2 separate regions of the Homo sapiens genome follow, and region 1 is linked to region 2. Evidence: promoter capture Hi-C in 16 types of primary human blood cells and fetal thymus (Javierre and others, 2016). All regions are on one chromosome and are shown on one strand. The core of a region is centred on a gene start or on the middle of the fragment in contact, and the rest is flanking DNA. Distances in the headings are between cores, read along the strand shown.

Region 1 (3,897 bases), core at 954-3,453, 580 kb after region 2:
GAAGGGACAGCCTGAGGGAAATTTTTAGGGTGATAGAAATGCTCTATGTCCTGTGGCGGTTACCTAAATCTATACAAGATCTATACAATCAGTAGAACAGTATATCAAAACAAAAAAAAATAATTTTACTGTGTGATAGTTTTAAAAAAATCTGTAGTGGCATTTAGGCCTTCCAAGGTCTCGTGAAGCAGAGGAGCTGGTTTGTAAGTTTGTGGGTTATGTTTGTTGGGTTTTTTTCCCTTCTGTCTACCAGGCTCATGGTTGTGGCAGCAAACAACTCATAAGCAACCTAGAGGAGGCTGAAGGGAAAACCCAAATGTGTCAGCTGTCCGCTTTGCTAGGAGCTCCAGGCAAAGATTTAGTAGGTGAAAAATCTTGGACCCAAGGAAAAAATGAATGTAAGACATCTGAGGCCTTTATGGTTATATAAACTTTGTGATGGCCAAATTATCCATGGTTTTTACTATAGGTAATTAGCCATATTATCTTTGTTCAATTAGCTCTATTTTTTCCCCAAAGCAGATTTTTACTGATCCTTCAGAAGCAGACTATAAAAAGTACAAAAGACTTTCAGTTCCCTACTCCCAGACTCTACACTCCCTTCAAATGCACTTCCCAGAAGTGGCTGTCCTCTGCCTTCTCTCTATAGACCCCCCTTTTCCCCTGGGCCCCTCAAGTCCCCCTCCAGTGTTTTTCTAACTCATTTGCAGTCTCATCTGAGAAGGCTAAGAATCTGAACACACACCATTGACCACATACCAAGCACTGACAGTTCAGAATTCATCTGGTGGATGCGAATCATTCCTGTGGGCTTTTTGTGATGGATGATACATTGATACAAGCCCTTGTCCTTGATCTGAAGATTGTGAAGTCTCAGGGTCCAACTGTCCGAATCAAAACTTGTGCGGCCCATATACTTGGAATGAACACTGTCAAATTTCTCTTTGCCTAAGTATACCTCATTCAGAACCAAGTTTTCCTGGTCCTGCCAAAATACTACTAGCTCACTCAGGCTTTGGTTTTGAGAGTTTGCAAATTGGCATGGCAGGTCTGCAGTCTCATTGAAATAAGCTTGAATCTTCAGAGGAGCAGCACCTAAAAAAGAAGGTTAAGGATTAGGGAGGGAGAAACAAGAGGAAAGGGGAAAAAACCTCCATTTCTCTTTATACAATACCCAGATACTATCTTATCAGTAATCATGCTGAAGAATAAGATATTAAGCTCTGGAACTGTGCACATCTGCTTGGCATCTGGAGATTAGGACCTTTGTCCTTGCTTCACCGCTGACTAAATGTGTGGCCTTGTACAAACTGCAATCTTTATGAGCCTCAGTTTCCTCATCTGATTAATGAAGTGGTTGACTAAATGTTCCAAGGGTCTTTCTAGTACTGTGGTTCTGTGAATTTAAATTGCAAGACAGGGAAAAACCAGTAGAGTTAGACAACCCATTCACCCACCAGTTACCTTCCTATAACCTTAATTTTAGTTTTCATCACTGTAGCTGTTACAGGTTCCATAACTTCTACACCATCACCAAAAGCTTTCCCCTCCCCTCCCATCCACATATTCCTTGGTCTGCTATGGTGAAAAGATTGCTGATAATGGTAATAAATTATAGCCCCCCTTTATTATACTTCATTAGTTGGGGAATCACGTTGAGTAACATCTTTGAAATTCAAATAGCTCCCTTTACAGAACTTCCCCTATGACTGCTGCTCCCATGGCCAGCACTTCCAAGGATGTCAAATGCTTTAGAAATGACTTCGATAGTGAACCAAGGCCTTTATTTTCAGTGACCTCTCTAAGCTCTTTCAGAGATCAGAAAGAGAACTGGGCAAATTTGATGGCTGTTTTCGGATTGTGGTGGTCAATGACCATTTAAGGCACATGAGTGAAATGCTGAAAATGAATCATAGATGGGCAGGTGAGGATGTGCTTTGGGAGTATTGGGGAAACCCCAGGCACCACAAACTTGCTGCTCCCAGTATGCACTGACCCTGGACAATTTTACAACCATAGACATCATGCTGGAAGGGTTGAGAGAAAGGCTTTAGTCCTTGAGGACACTTTGGGGTTTGTGGGAAGGATGTGGGCCACCCAACTACTTAAATGTGAATGATCACGGGGTTTGTGTAGGACCTTTTCTAGGTTACAGAATTACTTGAGACTTGGCAAAAAAAAAAAAAAAAAAAAAAAAAAAGTAAGCAGTGGTGGGTGAGAAGTGCGGGGGTGGAGAGTGGGAAGGCTGTTTCTTACTTAATATGAAGTTAGATGCCACCTTGGAGAGGAAGTTAGTGTAAGTTCTAAATAAAATTTCATCATTCAGGATTTATGTGAAGGCATGTTGACATTGAGGAGGAAAGGGAGGAGATGGGTTGATGAGAGAGATGAGAGGAGCTTCATTTGAAGAGTTCTAAGTGGGGGAGTAATTAAATTGATGTGGTTTCTCTTGAAAGAGGGAATAGAAGGACAGATAACAGTGACATGCACTTGTCAAACTAAACTGTGTACAGAGTGGCCCAGTGAGAACACATAATCAAGGGGTTGGTGGTGGTCTTGAACTCTTAGGGAAGCAGACAGCAGGCATCAGTGGGAGTTTGCACAAATATGAATCACTGCCTATTTCACTACACTCACTAGGACCCTGTGAAGTACTTGAGGTATAAAATGCACCACCTGTAGAGGATGCGTACCGGTATTGGAGGGAGGAAGGAAAATCTATATGCGTACCCTGACAGTGAAAGGGAGACCTAAGGAAGATTTAGTGTGTTTATGAATCACCTTACAAGGCAAACCTGAGGCTTCTGCATCTTCTTTGCTGAGCTCTTAATGTAATGCAAGAGTGCCCCCTACTGTAAAAGCTTCTAGCATTGTCTCTGAGGAAATACTGGTTTTAGTCTAAATTGTCATGTAATATAGGACAGATGACCTGATGGAGAAACCAAACACACAGTTAAAAATTCTGCCAATTAACAGTCAATGTTATGTTATTACTCAGCTGTCAGTTGTGCCTTCTGGACCTGGAAATGACTTCGTCTTTAGCTGCTTCTGTCTTCTTGATTTACATATATATATATATATATATATATATATTTTTTTTTTTTTTTTTTTCTGTAGAGCCTCACAGTATCTTCTTTCCTTCCCATCCATTCTGTCCACTCACAGACCAGTCTAACTCCGCTGACCCAGGCCCCTTCTCCCAAAGATTACAACGGCTTTCTCTTCCACTCATCGAGTGCTCCCTTCTTCACCTAGCAACTGAAAGTGTGATGTATGGACCAATGAGATTCACGTCACATGTGGGCTGGTCTGAAACACGGAATCTCTGGCCCCACCCAAGACTTACTGATTCAGAACCTCCATTTTAACAAGAGCTATAGTTTGAGCAGCTGTTGTAGAGAATCTCTGCCTCTGTCTCCAGAGTGGATCACAGAAAATGACATGAAAATTTTTTTTCCATCCATCCCTCCTCAGACTCCCTCTCCTCCCCATGGGGTGGAAATCACTTTGAAATCCATTCTGAGTGGAACTGAAAGTATTTTGCAATTTATACTCCATAGCACCTCACCAACCACTGGCTTCCATGATCTCACACAGAGCCAGGCATGGGGGATGCTGCTAATCCTTTCTCTGACTAAATGGGGAAAGTTTGGCTCAAGGTCTGTGATCACCAAATGACTTCAGGCCTTCCATTTTATGACCCCAGACCTCAAGCCACCTAGCAACTGGACTTACTGGGATTCCATAGGTGGGTAAGCATTGAGAATCTCTCCCTTCCCCAGCACTTGGGTAAGAGGAATGGTCGAAGTCTAGTTACAATGGGTTGCTATGATGTCAGGAACAAGTCGCTCAAGAATCCAGCTAGATGCCTTCGTAATCAGCTGAAGGAATTTGTTT
Region 2 (4,270 bases), core at 656-3,155:
TCATCTGTGCTGGGGGGTAAGACAAGAGGGGCCACTGGAGCAGCCTGGGGGTGGAGGAAGAGGAGTAGTGGGCTGGGGCCGGTCAAGGATGGAAGCCCAGCAGGAAGACTGAAATCTTTTCTGCTTGGAGGGCTAGAATTGAGTTATTTTATCATCACAAAATTATACTTTGTGCTATTTGTATTTTCATGCTGTTTAAATTTGTATAATTATTTCTTTTTGTTCATTTGGGGTTAACATTAACTACGGAAATTCTGAAACTTGAACACATTAGGGTCACCTGGGCTGCCGGTTAAATACACGCTTCCCACCCACCCCACATTCACTGAACCTGAATCTCTAAAACAGAGCTGGGAAGGTGCCTGGTTAACCTGCTCTCCAGGTGATTCAGATGCAGGTCAGACCTACTTCTAAGGATAATGGAATCTAAAGGAGAAAGAAGCATCCTTAAGGGCCAGATCGATGGTGATGCTGACCTCTGAAGTCAAAGTGGGGAAAACCCTCAAGGAAAAGTGACACCCAAAAGAGAAATGACTAATATCACACAGTTGCCCTTCTGAGCACTCCTTGGTAAAATTAATCCTAGGAAAACATGGTATTTTGTTTTCATAAGGGCCATGAGCCAAGCATATCTCCTGTCCCCCTCCTTCCTTCCTTCTGTGCGCCATTCTTTTTCTGTTTCATTTTTCCTTTTTGGATCCCTGCTTGGGCACTCTAATTGCATGGCCTCAGCCTCAGCCTCCTTGCCTCTCCTCTGGCCCGAATGCTTCTCCAAATCTAGCGACATGAAAGCGGAATTAGGGGTTGACTAGATCCCGATAGGTCATCATCCATAAGATGCCAGTGGAAAAGGTGCCCATTCTGGGAGCTGCAGGTCACTGGCTTCCCATTGCAGACCAGGGAGGCCCTTGAGCCAGCAGATCACCTCTGGGCTCTTGGCCCACCAAGTAGTGGTGGGTCTGTAAGGAGGGAACTTTGCCGACTTTCCCTCCAAAGCTCAAATCTCCCAACCCACAATCACTTCAGAATATCATCCTTGCTCCCAATCTGAGGGCCACTAGAGACTCGGAGAAGAGGCCCCGGCAGGCCCTCGACAATGGGCACCTGTGGTCGATCGACAGCCCCTCCAATGTGGCCGCTGTGACGGCTCTACGTTGACATTCAGGCAGTGTGATTTTAGGTAGCGCCTCTGCCCCTCTCCCAAGTGACCCCGGGACCCCTGGGAATCTCCAAGAACCACAAGGAATCTCTGTGACTTGCCACGTTTCTTAATCAGTTTCCTTCCCCACACAAGAATAATAACAACAGGAAAAGACAGAAAAGGATGATAAGAGGATAGACTCACTTCCACAACAACAACAACAAACAATAACACCACCACAACAGGGAAAGACAGAAAACGATCGAGGGATAAAGAGTTACTTGCGCGGTTCCGCCGCCACCTCCGGGCCGCGCCATTAAGCGCCTGGAAGCGCAGGGCGCCGGGGAACCGCAGCGCCCCGGGTGCGCTCGGAATCCATTCTGCCGCCCCCGCCCCCGCCCCCGCCCCGGCCACCTCCGCTACAGCAGCCGCCGAAGTCGGGCGGGTCACCCTCCCGTGCGTGCCCTGCCGCCATTTCCCTGGAGGGAGGGCAGAGGTGCCCCCTCCTCACCCCACCCCTCGCGCCCCTCACCGTCCTCCGGGTAGAAGAACACCAGGAAGCGGGATGGGCTCCTGGGATCCTGGCGGACCTCACACTCGCCGCCTCCCGACCTCTTCGGGCTCTGGAAGTACATCTGCAACTTGGTGTTCAAGTTCTTCGGGGGGTCGGGGCCCCAGGAGCCCTCGACCAGCAGCGGGAAGGAGCCGGGCACAGCCATCCTCAGCTCCGCTCTCCGCCGGACTGCAGGGGCCGCGCCAACTCCGGGCCGCTAACTTTGACTCTTTCGCTTTCGTTTCCTGGAAAACTCCCAGGCCTTGGTTTCCTTTTGCCTTCAGCCTAACACAGCGGACCCAGGAATGGCAGAGTCATCCCCCGCCCACCTCCCCACCTTCGCATTCGGCCCACAGCCAAGGCCAAAGTAACCCTTTGGGGCTGGCCAGCGGCGCCCCGGGAAGGCGGCCTCAGTTCACCTGTGCTCCACGGGCTCCCACACCCCCTCCTAACTCCGGGCCCCCTACCTGCCGCTCGCCCCAACCGCAGATCAAGTCGGCAGCTTTGGGGCACCAGACCTTGCCCAAACGCAAAGATCATTTAATTTTTGCCGCAAGCCGACCCTTTACAAAAGAATAAAATGACTCACAAACTGTGGCCCCTTTAGAATGTTTGCTGCCTATTTGGGGACTTTTTCAGCAATCATTGTGATTATCAGAATTTTACGTTGCTTTCCCTGTTTTGCTTTCTGTTCCTTGATCTGTTAATACTACATGTCTAGAAATGTGGGGGAAACAATTACACTCACAGTTTTTTTTGTGGAATATTTACTAGGCGCCATGCACTCACTCACTGAACCCTCGCTGAGCTCACGGAGCTATGGTGAACACAGTGGGCAATAGGTGCTCTGGGAAAGAATATACTTGTGTTCCTGGAACAGATGAGGAGTGGCTCCTAGTCCAGCTGTGGCGGCTCAGGGAGGGTTTATAGGGCGGTGACATGTAACCTGATAACCCCAGGATATCAGGGGATAGCCTTGGAGGGTTAGGAAGTGGGGTTCCACGGTGTGATTCACATGTACAGGATCACTCCGGCTGCTGCGTGGTGGCTAGAGTGGAGGCAGAGAGATCAGCCAAGTGGCTACCATAGTGTCCTAAGTGAGAGACAAGGGTGGCTGAGACTGGGGTGCTGGCAGAGAAGAACTGAGAAAACGAGGATTCTCAATTAATAGTGAAAGCAGGACTTGCTGAAGAATGTGAGCCTTGAGAGAAGGAGAAGCTCAAGGATGACTCCATGGTCAGCCATGGATGGCCCGTGCAAGTGGCTGGATAATAGTGGCATCTGCAAGAGGGGAGGCCGAGTGATGGGAGAGAAGCTGGGGCTGTGTGTTTCCTTGACCCCAAATAAAGCAGTGTTGCAAGTCGAGGGGGGCGGGGGGATTATCATTCCAGTGCTACCGATACCTCAGGTCAGAGAAGTGTCTGCTGGACTGCTGAGGAGCGGCAAGCATAGTCTCCTGGTGAGGAGGGAGGAGAGGGAGATGGCAGCTACTGAAGACTGAAAGGGAGGGAAGGAAGTGGAAGCAGAGAGCGTAACACGCTCTTTGCAGAAATGTGACCGTGAAGGGGAAGAAGGAGCCAGGCAGTAGGTTGTGGGGTTACAGGATCGGGCTGAATTTCAGAATGAAGAGAACCAGAGATGGGCCAAATGGTTTACCTGGCTTTTATTTCGGCTCTGTAATAATCCTAAACAGTACACAGATATTTTCTCCTGCCTCCAGCTTGCTACCTGCAGATGGCGCTCATCATCTGATCCAAAACTGCTCTGGACCCCCGCATGCGGAAGACGGGAGGACAAGCGCCCTCAGCCAGACTTGGTGACTGTTTCTCCCCAGGGCCTTTACATCTCATCCCAAACCACAACTAAAATCAGCACTCCTCCTCTCCCACTCTCCCCTGAGTTTGGGGTTCCAGAACTCAGCAAAAAGTTTCCCTTTTTCCTCACATAATTATTGTATAAGAAATAAAGTCAGAGGCATTTCTGGATTACTTTCGAGGATTTATTTAATTATCGACAATGTGTCTTACCACCGAGGTCTGCTTATCATGCCTGGGTGGACTGGGAAGGAGCTATCAGAGGATCAGGATGGCAGGTCTTGAAAGCCAAGGAAAGAAAGTTCTAGAAGGGGCAAATTGTTGAACGGCATTAGCTCCTGCAGTACTTTGTTTTCTGCAAGTTATTTTTGCCTTGTTCACTTGAAGAATGCGTATCCTCTCACAATTCTCTGTTTCCTGTGGGTATCTGCCTTCTGATCCTTTCTTCCTGGGAAGCACGTGTCTTCTCAGGGCCTGGGGTGGGGGTGGCCTGCTGTAGAAGTGGCCGTGTTCCTTGATTCTCCTTCTACTTCACAGCTACAGCTCATCTTAATGTAACAGCCCATGTCTGCATTTTTGGGCTGAACTTCCCTTTCCCTACTTCATCTAAATTCCCCCTTTTGGTTTCTCTACAAACTGCCGTAGCCTAGCATCGTGCTCTTTTGAACTTCTCTACCAACTAGCATCAGCCTCCTCATTTCTACCATTGAGGTATAAAGGAGGGAAAGGGCTGCTTTCCCTTCTGTCCTGAATCAGTGAGTT

The links. Contacts are between HindIII fragments. The CHiCAGO score rates a contact against its expected background, and 5 or more counts as called.
Region 1: a contact is called between a fragment that was not itself captured here and the fragment with the promoter of PARP14 in region 2, in 1 of 17 cell types (fetal thymus). The highest score is 7.3, in fetal thymus.

What each region holds. Positions count from the first base shown.
Region 1 is chr3:122,100,710-122,104,606 of GRCh38, reverse strand. CD86 (CD86 molecule) reads right to left here. Exons shown (of 7, transcript NM_175862.5): 3 at 760-1,095. Among named protein-coding and RNA genes, the nearest start is that of CD86, 47 kb to the right of the region's middle. RefSeq lists a silencer at 246-315 and an enhancer at 3,358-3,547. The HindIII fragment of the contact is 1,321 bases long and covers 1,543-2,863 here.
Region 2 is chr3:122,678,474-122,682,743 of GRCh38, reverse strand. PARP14 (poly(ADP-ribose) polymerase family member 14) reads right to left here and starts at 1,905. Exons shown (of 17, transcript NM_017554.3): 1 at 1,674-1,905. The coding sequence starts at 1,860. RefSeq lists enhancers at 1,167-1,256, 1,798-2,197, 1,622-2,394, 2,798-2,917 and a silencer at 1,508-1,557. The HindIII fragment of the contact is 13,941 bases long and covers 1-4,270 here.